2 separate regions of the Homo sapiens genome follow, and region 2 is linked to region 1. The links are contacts of gene promoters, found by promoter capture Hi-C in blood cells and fetal thymus (Javierre and others, 2016). All regions are on one chromosome and are shown on one strand. Each heading gives the region's core, a stretch centred on a gene start or on the middle of the fragment in contact. The rest is flanking DNA. Distances are from core to core; before and after follow the strand shown. Region 1 holds the start of PDCD4-AS1 (PDCD4 antisense RNA 1). Region 2 holds the start of ACSL5 (acyl-CoA synthetase long chain family member 5).

Evidence for each region. Contacts are between HindIII fragments. The CHiCAGO score rates a contact against its expected background, and 5 or more counts as called.
Region 2: a fragment that was not itself captured here is called in contact with the fragment with the promoter of PDCD4-AS1 in region 1 in 2 of 17 cell types (M0 macrophages and M1 macrophages); the score reaches 7.3 in M0 macrophages.

The regions. Positions count from the first base shown.
Region 1 is chr10:110,864,978-110,872,153 of GRCh38, reverse strand. PDCD4-AS1 (PDCD4 antisense RNA 1) reads left to right here and starts at 1,250. Exons shown (of 1, transcript NR_026932.1): 1 at 1,250-3,264. PDCD4 (programmed cell death 4) reads right to left here and starts at 226. Exons shown (of 12, transcript NM_014456.5): 1 at 136-226. It overlaps LOC124902500 (a long non-coding RNA gene), which reads right to left. Exons shown (of 2, transcript XR_007062288.1): 2 at 5,706-5,980. RefSeq lists silencers at 1-33, 64-113, 4,366-4,435 and enhancers at 1,118-1,728, 4,556-4,605, 7,007-7,176. The HindIII fragment of the contact is 8,654 bases long and covers 542-7,176 here.
Region 2 is chr10:112,370,748-112,377,923 of GRCh38, reverse strand. ACSL5 (acyl-CoA synthetase long chain family member 5) reads right to left here and starts at 3,808. Exons shown (of 21, transcript NM_203379.2): 1 at 3,655-3,808. RefSeq lists enhancers at 1,075-1,575, 1,598-1,817, 1,576-2,076, 1,958-2,107. The HindIII fragment of the contact is 494 bases long and covers 2,512-3,005 here.

The DNA of each region.
Region 1 (7,176 bases), core at 1-2,500:
AGGCCCGGACCTGACAGGACCGCGACCCCCACGCCTCCGCCCCCGCCCCCTCCCATCTTGCGGCTGCCTCCGAGGAGGGATGGGGGAGAGGGCGCAGTCTTCCCGAGCGTGTGAGCCGCGCCTACTGGTACTGACCCCTCGGGCCCCCGCCGCTGCTCGCCCAGGTTCCTGGTCAGCCGGCCCCGACCCCGCTCTTCTGTCTCTGCCGCCGCCTCGGAGAGTCTCTGGCCCTTCTCGCTCTGTTTGTTTTTGTTTTCTTCTACCCAGTAACACGGGGGCGAGAGGGCGGCGCTTATTGGCCGAGGCCGGGTGGTCGGCTGGCCAATCGTGGCGGCGGAGCCGGAGCTGAGGAGGAAAAGGGAGAGGAGTGAAACGTGGAAAGTTGGGGAGGGGCGCGGGAGGGCGCATGCGCATGTGGCTCCTGGGACTGGCTGGAGCGGGAGTTGAGCGGGAAGTCGGGGTGGGGGTATGTTGGGAGGCGTGGCGGGATGGGAGCGTTGGGAAAAGGGCAGTGCTGGGGGATGGGGACGAGGATGAAGCTTCCTCGACCCAGCTCACCCATTCTCCTCACAGGGCGTTCTGCAAACTCGGCTGAAGCAAAGGTTTTGAGCTTCCTGATGGTCCCTGCCTCCATTTCTAGAAACTGCTTAGGCGAACACTCCAAGTGATCAGCCTGTCCGATTCCTCCTCCCTCTGGCCGCTGCTTTCTCTGTGGCTTCCAGTTTCTGGAGATCCCATGCTAAGAAGTTTCTCTCAGCGAATCCCCTCAAACCTTTGAGATGGAAATAATTCCCATTTCACAGATATAAAGCAGGCTCCAAAACTCTTTGAAGTTCCTTTGCTAATCATGACTAGCCAAGCCTCTGGCGTTCAAACGCACAAATTCCGGCCTCCAGTGCTGGGGTTCTCAGCCATGGCTACAATTTCTGTATTGAAACTTCCACCTCCCCTCGCTGTTCTCTGTGACTTTTCCTCTTGGCTGCATTGGTTTTGGCTGGTACTATCCTTACTCTTTCAAGGTCACGGTCCCCTGAGGGTGATAACCAGAACCTTAGGCTTCCTTTGTGTTCCCAGGCGGGGACTTAGCCACTGCCTCTGATCAGATTTTTCAGTTGTCTGATGGGCAGCACCGAATGATTGCTTGTGCTCTCCAGAACCCAACTGCCTCATCCCGCACAGGCCAGCGCTTTCCCTTGGCTGCCCAGTCACCCTGCCTGGGAATCATCTCTAATGCTACTATTTCTCTGCACACACACGCACACACACACACACAAACCTTCACTGGCTTCCCATTGCCTCTCTTGAGTGTCAGCGCCTCGGTCGGTCATTCAAGGCTCCGTGATGTGACTTCAAGACTTTCAGGCTGTGTCTCCACACATCTCCCCATATGCTTCCTCACCCCCTGGTAGTTCTTTATATATCACCTTGAAATGTCTCTCTTCTCATCTCCTATCTCCGCCTGATGCAATCCTTCTGTGCCTCATGGCCCTTCCTGGTAGTTTTTTATTTTGTTGTTGTTGTTGTTTTATTTAATTGAGGCAGGGGCTTGCCCTTTAGCCCAGGAGAATGCAGTGGCATGATCACAGCTCACTGCTGCCTCGACCTCCGTCAGCCTCCCTAGCTCAACGATCCTCTCACCTCAGCCTCCTGAGTAACTGGGACTACAGGCACAGCTCACTATGCCCAGCTAATTTTTGTATTTTCTGTACACACAGGGTTTCATCATGTTGTCCAGGCTGGTCTTGAACTCCTGGGCTCAAGCAATCAGCCCACCTCTGCCTCCCAAAGCGTTGAGATTACAAGCGTGAGCCACCATTCCTGGACCCTCGTAGTTTTTCTGGAGCCTCGTGATTTGATATGATCTTCCTGCCGCTGATTCCTCACAGTGTTGGCTTGCCACACCTCCAGGGGCACTGATCACATTCTACCTGGCATTATTTCATCTGAGTCCCTGTCCTAGCCCTTCTGCCCATTAGACTGTAACCTTGTTTAGGGAAAGACCTGTGTCTTACTCATCTGTGATTTTGTTGTTGTTGTTGTTTTGAGACAGGGTCTTGCCCTGTTGCCCAGGCTGGAGAGCAGTGGTGCAATCTTGGCTCACTGCAGCCTCAACCTGTTGGGGTCAAGCCATCCTCCCACCTCAGCTTTCCAAGTAGCTGAGACTACAGGCCTGTGCCACCACACCCAGCTAGTTTTTTGTATTTTTAGTAGAGATGGGGTTTTGCCATGTTGCCCAGGCTTCTCTTGAACTCCTGAGCTCAAGGGATCTGCCTGCCTCGGCCTCCCAAAGTGCTGGGATTACAGGCGTGAGCCACTGTGCCTGACCCACTCACCTGTCATTGTAGTACTTAAGATGCCTTGTTCATTTATTGTGCCTGTGCAATAAATACACCTTGATTTGAGTTTACAAAGATTCTCAGCAGTTGGTGGTCATCCTCATCTCCTGGGCGGGGGCCTCCTGGTGTGGCCAGTATCTGAATTAGTCTCATAACTCATGTTCACTTTTTAAAATCGGAGCTTCCCAGACCTCAGTTTTGTTTTGTTATTTTCCATTATCTGCAGCTGTCTCCTTTCCCCTCTCTCACCTATACTCTACTGATCAGTGACTGCTGGCTCCTTTGTTACCCATCCTTCTCTTTCTCCACATTTTTTCTCTTCTCATCCCTTTCAGTTCTGGACTGTTTCCTTCTTCCTCCCTGTCTTTCATTTAGTCATTCATTGAATGTACTTACTAAGCACATATAGCATAATCAGGCTGTGTTGGGTAGGCATCCCGAGTTCTATGAGATAAAGAAAGAATGGGATATGATTACCAATTTTAAGAAGCATCTAAAACAACCTGTTATGTTTTAGCAAATTGCCCCCAAAGGACCCATTAGGGAGGAAAACGTTCATGTCCTTTTTGCGTATCATCTCAAGCAGTACCCATGATGGCTGGGATCCCAGAACCCACCTTTGAGAATGCTGCCGTATTTGCGTGTGGTTGACAAGGTTGGGCCAGACACTCAGGAAATAGGGTTGTCGTCCTACCTCCCCCACTAACTTCCTGTAAGAACTTCAGCCCCTCTCAGGACCTTTTTCTTTACCAATAAAATTCAGAAATTGGGCTCAATCAGTAATTCCCAAGTTATTTTCCAAAGAACATGAATTTTGTGGAACTTTAATAGATATCATGCAAAAAAAAATGTGGGAGGGATTGTTCCATGGTCAAATGGTCTTGGAAATAACTCGTTTAAACAAAAATAAAACTGTTTCTTTACCCACAACTCTTCTCAGTGGTTTTTTGTTTGTTTGTTTGTTTTTTGAGATGAAGTTTTGCTCTTGTCGCCCAGTTTGGAGTGTAATGGCACTATTTTGACTCACTGCAACCTGTGCCTCCTGGATTCAAGTGATTCTCCTGCCTCAGCCTCCCCAGTAACTGGGATTATAGGCGCCTGCCACCACGCCTGGCTAATATTTATATTTGTAGTAGAGTTGAGGTTTCACCATGTTGGCCAGGCTGGTCTCGAACCCCTGATCTCAAGTGATCTGCCCTCCTCGGCCTCCCAAAGTGCTGGGGTTACAGGCATGAGCCACCGTGCCCAGCCTTCTCAGTGTTTTTAATAAGCTATGTGCCTTTAGTGTCTTGGGAGACCAAGGTAGGAAGATTAGTAATGTTTCCTACCTTGTTTAAACACAGAACCTTTTTTTCTCAAGATACCCCAGAAGCAGTGTTATTTAGAAACCAACTTGGGAAATATAGATGACAGCCACTGTCACCAACATTCCTTCCAGCTGTGTTGAACACTTAGTCACCTGTGCCTTTGCAGCTGAACATTTAACAAAAAAAATTTTTTTAAGAATAAGCTGAAAATGGAGAAGTATCCAAGTGCCAAGAATTTTTGCCTACCAAATCAATCCACAAATATTTTAGTGTGTGCCTGTTCTATGAAAAGCACAGTTGATTCAGCTGTGTTCTTGGTAAAAGGCATTATACTACTTTAGGGTAGGTAATATCTGAAGCCTAGGGCTGCCCGGGCTTCTGGGCCACAATGTATGTTTTCATTTCACGTTGTAATTGTCACAAACTAGGTTTCTGTTACCTGAATCCCTGTGCCTATGGGCTTATGTTAATTTAGCTATTAGATGACAGAAAAGGAGAGAGGCCTTCCCCTTAACTCACTCTATACAGAATAATGGAATTGCAACTTCCATTTCCCTTAAGAAAGATTCATTCCAAGAGCTTAGGAGAGGAAGGGAGATCACAGTTGCCCAGAACAAGACAGCTGCTCAGAGGTGGCAACAGAAACTCTGTGCTTTGTGAGTAGATAAACGTTACATACTTCATCTTCCCCGTACTCCTCAGGCTTAAGCAGTATTGAGATACTTGGAGGGGCGCAAAGAGTGTTTGGTTTTGTCAGGGGAGAGGGTGGGAGATAGTTCCTATTTTTCGCCTCTTAAGACAAGGTAGTGACCCTGTCCCTAACTAGCTGTGTTGCTTTGGGTGTTTCACTTCCTCTCCCTGAGTGAATTGAATGCTTCAATTTTCTGTGCTGTAAAAGAAGGAGGTGCCCATTGCAGGGAGTCCATAAGCAGCCATTCAGTTCTAACACCCTGGGATGCTGAGCAAGGTACTGAGTTGGTACCATGGGAGTCCTGGGAATGGAGAACAAGAGATAAGAAAGTTTGCTGGCCGGGTGTGGTAGCTCATGCCTGTAATCCCAGCACTTTAGGAGGCCAAGGTGGGCGGATCACTTGAGGCCAGGAGTTTGAGACCAGCCTGACCAACATGGTGAAACCCCATCTCTACTAAAAATACAAAAAAATTAGCTGGGCGTGGTGGTGCATGCCTGTAGTCCCAGCTATTCAGGAGACTGAGGCAGGAGAATCTCTTGAACCTAGGAGGCGAAGGTTGCAGTGAGCTGAGATCCCGCCACTGCACTCCAGCCTGGGTGACAGAGACAGACTCCACCTCAAAACAAACAAACAAAGGAGTTTGCCACTGTTGGCAGGAGAGGATTCCACCGGGTATGGACAGAGGGACTGTCAACCCAGGGGCTTTCTCCTAATGCAAAGCTCAGATAATATCACCTCCCTCCATCCCAAAGGCAAAGTGATGGCTGGTGTGGGTTTAGGAGCACTAATTAATTAATTTGGGTAAAGTACTTGAAAAAGCACAGTTGAAGGCAAAAGATAAGCACCTAGATTTACTATTAATGCCTTTGGAACTCTCCAAGGCCTTTTCATTCTTAGGGTAAAGCCTCATTTGAGAGTTCTGTTTCTTAATAAGAAATGGTCATGCCCCTAAATGAAATTGAGGAGAATTTGTCTTTCTGGGGGCTAAGGGTAGGTCTTAGCCCACTTCCTTCCTAAGAAATTTTAGATGCTGCTGTCATTTGCAGCAACTTCATCTACCTGAACTGACGCCTTGTCTCCTTTTGTCAAACCAAAGCCTGAATTTTGAGAATTTCTCTAAGGCAAAAATTGCACTTTAGCACAAATGGTAAAAGATATAAAACATGTTCTGAAGAAAGAGCTGCATAAAGAATTCTTATAATAATGATGATAGCTGACATTTGTGTTGGCCTAAGATTTACTGAGCACATGTGCATAGACTTTCACCACCTCCCTATGAAGTGGACAAGATTCTGTGCTTTAAACATGAGGGAAATAATGAACCTTGAGCAGGTCACTGGTAATCATGGAACTTTTATACTGAAAGGAAATTTGGGGATTCCCTAGTCCAAACCTTTTATTTTACAAATGGAGAAACAGATTCAGAGAAGTTAAGTGGGTCACCTAAAGCCACACAGCTAAGTTAGTAGCTGAGCCAGAAGTACATATGAGATCTCTGCCCAGAGTTGTAGGGAATGTGCAGACCAGGAATCCAGACCTTCTGGCACCCAGGCTGGGCTGGACTTTCCCTCACATGCCTCTTGATTGACAGTTAAATTTCTGGGTCCTAGAGGCTCCTGGTATCAGATGAATCCATCTCAGGGGCCTGAAAGTGGGGAAGAGGGAAAGGGTAGTAAGCATTGTACAACGTTTAGAAACCCTTCAAGGGGCATTTCTTGCATGTCTTTCCTGGGGTAAAAAGCAAGCACAGAGTAATGTGAAGCATAGTTCAAAAAATAGATGCAATATTTTACTGTGGTATGTACCAAGAAAAATTGAAAGACTACTAAGATTTTATTTCCTCAATTCAGGTTTCGAAAGGTTTTCTTAGTACATTTGTCTTTTATGGGGTTTCCCCCCCTCAAATCACTCCTACCACCTTAGAGATTTAGAAAAAAAGCTCAATTAACATTGAGGAACTCCAGCAAGAAATCTTTCCCGCACCATATCCCCCGCCAAAACACAAATTTTACCACATCTCCTATACTTGGCCTAAGTTCTAAGCCTTTGCAAACTCCAGTTCATTAGACTTTTGCAAACACAGACCATTCCACCCGATGCTTTTCAGCATTTATTATAACTGCCACGCCCTGCATTTAATAGTGTTGAGTCAGGGTAGAGAAGTGCTCCTCCAGTTGTATCTCTCGGGGCTTTATTCGCATTCTTCTGGAACACTGGATCCTGGGCTAGGCTTCACATGTCTCAGAATTAATCCTCTTTTCTCCAGCTGCCCTGAGTGCACATAGCTGCCATTATGCCCCCCTCCCCTCTATGTCTGCAGTGTCGGCTTGCTTCCCAGACAAGGAGGTAGGGCCCAGAAAGCCTGGTATAGAAATGAGGAACTTTTCATTCTGGAAAATAAATGAAATGAATGATCTTGGGTTGTGATTAAGACAGCCAAATCTATAAGGAAGTACAAACAGAGAAGGCTAGAGAAGGGCAGGGGTAAGGCAGGGCTGAGGAAGGGGGATGGCTGAAGAGACAAATGCTGGGTAGAAGTTAATTAATGGAACTAATCGAACCTCTATTTATTTTGAGCAAAAATAAATAAATAAAAGTAGTGGCAAGAGAAGAACAAGGGAAACCCAAGAAAGATGTTGCTTTTTGTTATTAAATGTTTATAATAAAAATGAAGCTAGCCCCGTAGAAGTTCAGAGAAAAGAATAAAGTCCCAGGAGATGACCTGGTGAGGACAACTTGCTCAGATAACAAATGAGCAAACCAAGGCCCAGACAGAAGTGGTGCGGCTCCTGGCAAGACACAGACAGAGCCATAGGACCTCATTCCACGGCCAACAGCTGC
Region 2 (7,176 bases), core at 1,509-4,008, 1.5 Mb before region 1:
AATTTGAATGCATTTATCTGGGGTATGCCTGCTCTGAATTTTGCTAAAGTTTCCACCATTAGCATCTTATTACACACCATCTACTTTACTTCTCTATATTACTTGCCTGTCCTATAAGCATTTGCACTTACACTTCTTGTTTTATTTAGGTTTTTGTTCCTTTTATTATGCCAAATACACAAAAGATGGCTATAAAATTTTACACCATGCCTCTTTCAAGACATGTTCTGTGTTTAACCTTGAATACTGATCAATCGGAGGGGACTACCACAGAGTGACTCCATATCAGAATATGAAGGGAGAAATAAACAAAACCAATTACTCCTTTTTTAAAAGAAAACTAAGTCAGTTTTCAATGTTTTTTTATTTGTTTGTTTGTGTGTTGTTTTTGAGCCAGAGTCTTGCTCTGTCATCCAAACTGGAGTGCAGTGGTGCCATCTCGGCTCACTGCAACCTCCGCCTCCTAGGTTCAAGCAATTGTCCTGCCTCCTGAGTTGCTGGGATTACAGGCGTACGCCACCACGCCAAGCTAATTTTTGTATTTTCAGTAGAGATGGGGTTTCGCCATGTTGGCCAGGCTGGTTTCTAACTCCTGACTTCAGGTGATCCACCCACCTCAGACTCCCAGAGTTCTGGGATTACAGGTGTGAGTCACTGCGCCCGGCCTTAACTTTATTTTTTAAGACTCTGCCTCTGATATAGAATACTAATCACCTACACATTGGAGCTATAGATTCAATTCTACCTTTCAGACCACCAAAAAAAGGCTGATATCTCAGAAGGTACCAAGCCCCGGTGGTAGAGTCCCTTTCCAGTGCTTATTCCCTGAGGGTCTCCGGTGGTAGAGTCCCTTTCCAGTGCTTATTCCCTGAGGGTCTCCGGTGGTAGAGTCCCTTTCCAGTGCTTATTCCCTGAGGGTCTCCAGTGGTAGAGTCCCTTTCCAGTGCTTACTCCCTGAGGGTCTTTGAGATTCACCTTAGGACCCTCAGGGAGTGGGCATTGGGAAGGAAGTACTTAGGAATTAAGCAGCACCTGAGACTTAACCTGTGGCCTTACTTCCTAAAATACACTCAGCTCCATTCATCTGTCTCTCCCACCCCATTGGTCTCATTCATCAGTCTTACCCAACATAAAATTGAGGGCAAACCCCCAGCCCACCTCAGGGGAGCTATGCTGGATGCTCAGACCCACAAAAAGAGGTCTCTGTTTTGGTTCACCTTCCCCAAGAGAGTCGAGAGAAGGAAAGTGAGCCCCATGCATGCCCCACATCCTTCCTTCCCGTTGCTCCTCCTGACACAGGGTCTGAAGGCATGACCGAGACCAGGAGGGAGACAGCATGATGTGCCCGTGGAACTCAGCCGGCCCTTGATTCTAAGTCGCTTAAAGAAAGTCGGGGGTCAGGATGCCCCCTTGGCCTCTGTCACACCCTCACAAGACCCCCTTGCTGAATAACACCCCCTCGATGGTCCCCTTACCCTGCGAGGGGGCCGCATCTCTCAGTGCTTCTAGTGAATGGGGGCTTCCCGGCTCTGAGTTCTTCCTGCCACACGAGTCCCTGTCCTTCTTCCCTCGCTCGTGGTTCCTCCAGAGACAGGGTGGCTTCAGAGCGTCCATGCAGGCAGAAGGCCGGCCCAGAGTGTCCCCAGTTCTGCCCTGCTCTGAGCTGTCCCGAGTCAGGCCATGTCAGGCTTTCTAACGTGCTCGGGGACTTCACTTCCTGGTTTTAATTTTTTTTTTCACAACTGAAAGTGGAAGTGTTCTGACCAGGAGGGGAGAAGCTGCCAAAGCTACCCTGGCTCCGTGTCAAAGCCTTTCACCTCAGCCCCTAAGGGCCGACACAAAAGCCAGCTTGCCTCAACACAGTTGACCCTGCCCTCCTGTGGCCTATCATCTTTCAACTAAGATGAAAACAAACAAACTAAAATGACTTGAGGTGCCCCCTCAGATCAGAAGCCTCACAGAGGCAGAGGTGACGCTGTTCCCTGCTGGATTCGGAGGACAGGAAAGTCTGGCTAGAGGGTACCTCAGCCCTCAGACCCACACAAACACCTTCTACCCCGCCTCTCTCCAGTCGCCAGAGCTGCCTGCCTTGGTCTCTGAAGAAGTTCTGGCAAAGCCAAGAAAATAAGCAAGTCAGGAACGACAGGGCTGTGAGTCGTTCAATTGGCATGGTTTCTTTCCCTCTGATACAGTCACACCTCAAAACTTAACTTAAAAATCGATTCTTTCGCCTTGGTCACCCCCAGTATTACCAGGACCTGTATTAGTCTCATTTTTGATCCGCCTAAGGCTGTGGCTACAGGGGGGCCCTGGAGCTACCATTCTCAGATTAGGAAGCCGAAATGACAAATTTTCCTGCCCCTTCCCCACCTCACAGATACCTCAGAATGAAGCAGCACTTTCTCCAGCCTCGATCCCCCACGAAGGCTCACAGGAAGTTCAGCATGATCCTGGCTCTTTGCTGGAGCTAGATTAGGGTTTGTTCTTTCTACAGAGCAGTTCTTAAAAGCTTCCTACTAAGGAAGCCAGGGTGAGCTGTGCCACAGTCTCAGAGAACACAAGAGCTGAGCCCTTGGCCTCTGGGGAGCCGCCTTTGGACATGGAAGAAAGATGAAGGGCTGGGAGACGAAGTGGGGCCTGTGGCATTCCATCCTCTGGCTCATCTCACGGCTGGAGGAGCACTTGTCATTTGCTTAGTTTCAGGAACTCAGCTCCCCAAGAGGCAACTTCCTCTAGAGGAGAGCAGAGGATGGCAGAGTGGGTGTCGAATCTCAGCCACACTAATACCTCTGAGCCCTTCACCGGGTGCTGTCTTCCTTCACCAAAGGGCTCAGGGCCAGGGGAAGATGAGGTTTTATTTCTTTTTTTTTTATTGACCTCCTCCAGTAAAAATGCTCAAGTTCAGGAAGGTTGAGTCATTCTAAAGGCCCATCAGAGTTGTATTCCTATCAATCCTCTGTGCACATGAGTGACACCCTCAGGATTTCAGGGGGTAACTGAAAGCTTTGGCAACCCACAACAATTCTGCATTATTGGGCAGGCTGTGGAAACTGACCAATCAAGTCTCAAATTCTAGCCACACCACCTTGGAGCTATGTAGCTTAGGCCATGCTGTTTAACAGCCTGGAGACGCACTATGCCTCTGTGAAATGGGAAGGATACCACCTGCTTTATAGGATGAGATACACCAATGAAGTAACATACATAATCTACCCAGAACAGTCCCCAGCACCTAATCGAATATCTGCTGATTCCCTTCCTCTCTGTCTGCCAAATGGGACTCTCTGCCCTCAGCAGCTGACGCACGATCCTTCTAACTACACTGAGACAGAAATTTCTTAATGGAAGATGAAGGAGACCCACATTCTGGCTTGGTGTGCTTTAGTACACTTACCAAAATCAGTGTTCCCTTCCAATTCCATCCCCTGCTAGCATTTGGATAGCTCATATATCTCCACCCCTTTTCCAACTGATTTTTTTCTTTGCCTCCCACACAAGTCAGCTGAGATTACTATTCAACTAAATGTAATTTCATGTTATTAAAGAGCCTTAGGTTGAGCATAACAAATCCCACTTTCTTTCCCCACACCAATCCCCTCCCTACTATCTCACAGATATATTCAATATAGTGCAGGTAGTATCATTGCAGCTTACCTTGGAAGAAGACTCTCCCTTCCTGGGTCCAGGAAGTGCTCCCCTCACAGCTGGCTGTATTGATTCAGCACCACATTCAGGCACTTCTACTCTTTCCACAGCTCCTAGGACTGACTGGGACACACCCGAAGCTACTGTGTACTGTCCTGAGAGTGGCCAACACACTCCCCTGGAACCTTTGAATCTGTCACAACAGAAGTTCAAAGGTAGAAGTTACCTGTTCAAACACTTGTAGTAACCTCTGACAGTAAGAAAAGCAGTGTTGGGCAAAAGATTAAAACAAGAGATTGTTATGCAATGGGCTTAAGCGGGAAAAAAAAAAAAGACGGCCCTTAGTTCAGAAAGCTAACGTTTACCAAGAGAAACCTTCGATAAAGCTCTACCTCAGGGGAAGGAGAAGGGGTAGACAGGGCTTTGCATCTGCTTTGGGGGCACAATCCTTGAGACTGTGATAGGAAGAGGAAGGTCTAGATTACTAGAAGAAAAAGGGCTCCTTGAGATCAGAGTGAGAGAAAAATGAGAAGCCACTTTAATTGGCTCAAGCTATAACTTTAGGATTCAGACTAAGCAGAGGTGTGCATTTGCAGACCAGCTATCTTCTAGAAGGGACCACTGCCCCCTTCAGAATTAGAACGTCTCCAAGACAACCAAATGAGCCAAATCAGTCTAGAGTCTAGGCTGAGAGACAAGCCTAGGACGGTTGTTTTTAGGATTCGGAATCACGAACACAGTCTGCAGCACACATAGTTTAGCAAGGCGCTAGAATAGGAAGCATTGCTTCCTGGCTAACACGGTGAAACCCCGTCTCTACTGAATACACAAAAAATTAGCCGGGCGTGGTGGTGGGCCCCTGTAGTCCCAGCTACTTGGGAGGCTGAGGCAGGAGAATGGTGTGAACCCGGGAGGTGGAGCTTGCAGTGAGCCAAGATCGCGCCACTGCACTCCAGCCTGGGCGACACAGCGAGACTCTGTCTCAAAAAAAAAAAAAAAAAAAGAAGCATTGCTACTGCGTCATGGCTCAGCCATCCTACTCTCTCCTTTTTTTTTTTTTTTTTTTTTTTTGAGACGGAGTCTCACCGCAACCTCCACTTCCTGAGTTCAAGCAATTCTCCTGCCTCAGCCTCTGGAGTGGCTGGGATTACAGGCATGCACCACAATGCCTGGCTAATTTTTTTTTTTTTTTTTGTATTTTTAGCAGAGACAGGGTTTCACCATGTTGGCCAGGCTGGTCTCGAACTCCTGACTTCAAGTGATCTGCCTGCCTCGGCCTCCCGAAGTGCTGGGATTATAGGCATGAGCCACCATGCCCAGCCTCTCTTTCCACTTTGAAGTTCTCTAGTCACCATTCTTGATTCCAAGATCATTAGGACTGCAAGGCATCATTACTAAACAAAAACAGTGGGTAGAAATGAAAGAAACCCTGGAGATGATGTGCAAACTTACTGTATAGGTGAGGCCAGTGAGGCCTTTTCAGGTGAAAGAAGGCTTCTGGAATCACACAACCAGTCGGTCAAGACAGCACCTGACTCAGAGTCATGAGAACCCCTGCAGTGCCTTGGCCCCTATGCTGCCCCATTGATCTGTGTATGTTTAGCTACCAGAATGAAGCCGCGGACCCTCGCAGTGAGTGTTACAGTTCTTAAAGGCGGTGTGTCTAGAGTTTGTTCCTTCTGATGTTCAGATGTGTTCAGAGTTTCTTCCTTCTGGTGGGTTTGTGGTCTTGCTGGCTCAGGAGTAAAGCTACAGACCTTTGCAGTGAGCATTACAGCTCATAAAAGCAGCGTAGACCCAAAGAGTGAGCAGTAGCAAGATTTATTGCAAAGAGCTAAAGAACAAACCTTCCACAGTGTGAAAAGAACCCCAGGTGGTTGCCACTCCGGGCTCGGACAGCCTGCTTTTATTCTTTTATCTGGCCCCACCCACATCCTACTGATTGGTCCATTTTACAGAGAGCCGATTGGTCTGTTTTACAGAGAGCTGATTGGTCCGTTTTGACAGGGTGCTGATTGGTGTGTTTACAATCCCTGAGCTAGACACAAAAGTTCGCCATGTCCCCACTAGATTAGCTAGATACAGAGTGTTGACACAAAAGTTTTCCATGTCCCCACTAGATTAGCTAGATCCAGAGTGTCGATTGGTGCATTCACAAACCCTGAGCTAGACCAGGGTGCTGAATGGTTTACAAACCTTGAGCTAGACACAGAGTGCCAATTGGTGTATTTACAATCCCTTAGCTAGACATAAAGGTTACCCAAGTCCCTACCAGAGTAGCTAGATACAGAGTGTCAATTGGTGCATTCACAAACCCTGAGCTAGACACGGGGGGCTGATTGGTGTGTTTACAAACCTTGAGCTAGATACAGAGTGCCCATTGGTGTATTTACAATCCCTTAGCTAGACATAAAGGTTCTCCAAGTCCCCACCAGAGTAGCTAGATACAGAGTGTCCATTGGTGCATTCACAAACCCTGAGCTAGACACAGGGTGCTGATTGGTGTGTTTCCAAACCTTGAGCCAAATACTGAGTGCCGATTGGTGTATTTATAATCCCTTAGCTAGACATAAAGGTTCTCCAAGTCCCCACCAGACTCAGGAGGCCAGCTGGCTTCACCCAGTCGATCCCGCACCGTGGCCACAGGTGGAGCTGGCTGCCAGTCCCACACCGTGTGCCCACACTCCTCAGCCTTTGTGTGTCTGGAATTGGTGGGTTCTTGGTCTCACTGACTTCAAGAATGAAGCTGCACACCCTGGCGGTGAGTGTTACAGTTCTTAAAGGCAGCGTGTCCGGAGTTTGTTCCTTCTGATGTTCGGATGTGTTTGGAGTTTCTTCCTTCTGGTGGGTTCGTGATCTCACTGGCTCAGGAGTGAAGCTGTGGACCTTCGCGGTGAGTGTTACAGCCCTTAAGGTGGGGCGTCTGGAGTTGTTTGTTCCTCCCGGTGGGTTCGTGGTCTTGTTGGCTTCAGGAGTGAAGCTGCAGACCTTCGTGGTGAGTGTTACAGCTCATAAAGGCAGTGTAGACCCAAAGAGTGAGCAGTAGCAAGATTTATTGCAAAGAGCGAAAGAACAAAGCTTCCACAGCATGGAAGGGAACCCCAGCAGGTTGCCACTGCTGGCTGGGGCAGCCTGCTTTTATTTCCTTATCTGGCCCCACCCACATCCTGCTGATTGGTCCATTTTACAGAGAGCTGAGTGGTCTGTTTTAACAGGGTGCTGATTGGTGTGTTTACAATCCCTGAGCTAGACACAAAGGTTCTCCACGTCCCCACTAGATTAGCTAGATACAGAGTGTGGACACAAAGGTTCTCCAAGTACCCACTAGAGTAGCTAGATACAGAGTGTCCATTGGTGCATTCACAAACCCTGAGCTAGACACAGGGTGCTGATTGGCGTGTTTACAAACCTTGAGCTAGATACACCGTGCCGATTGGTGTATTTACAATCCCTTAGCTAGACATAAAGGTTCTCCAAGTCCCCAGCAGTCAGGAGCCCAGCTGGCTTCACCCAGTGGATCCAGCACTGGGT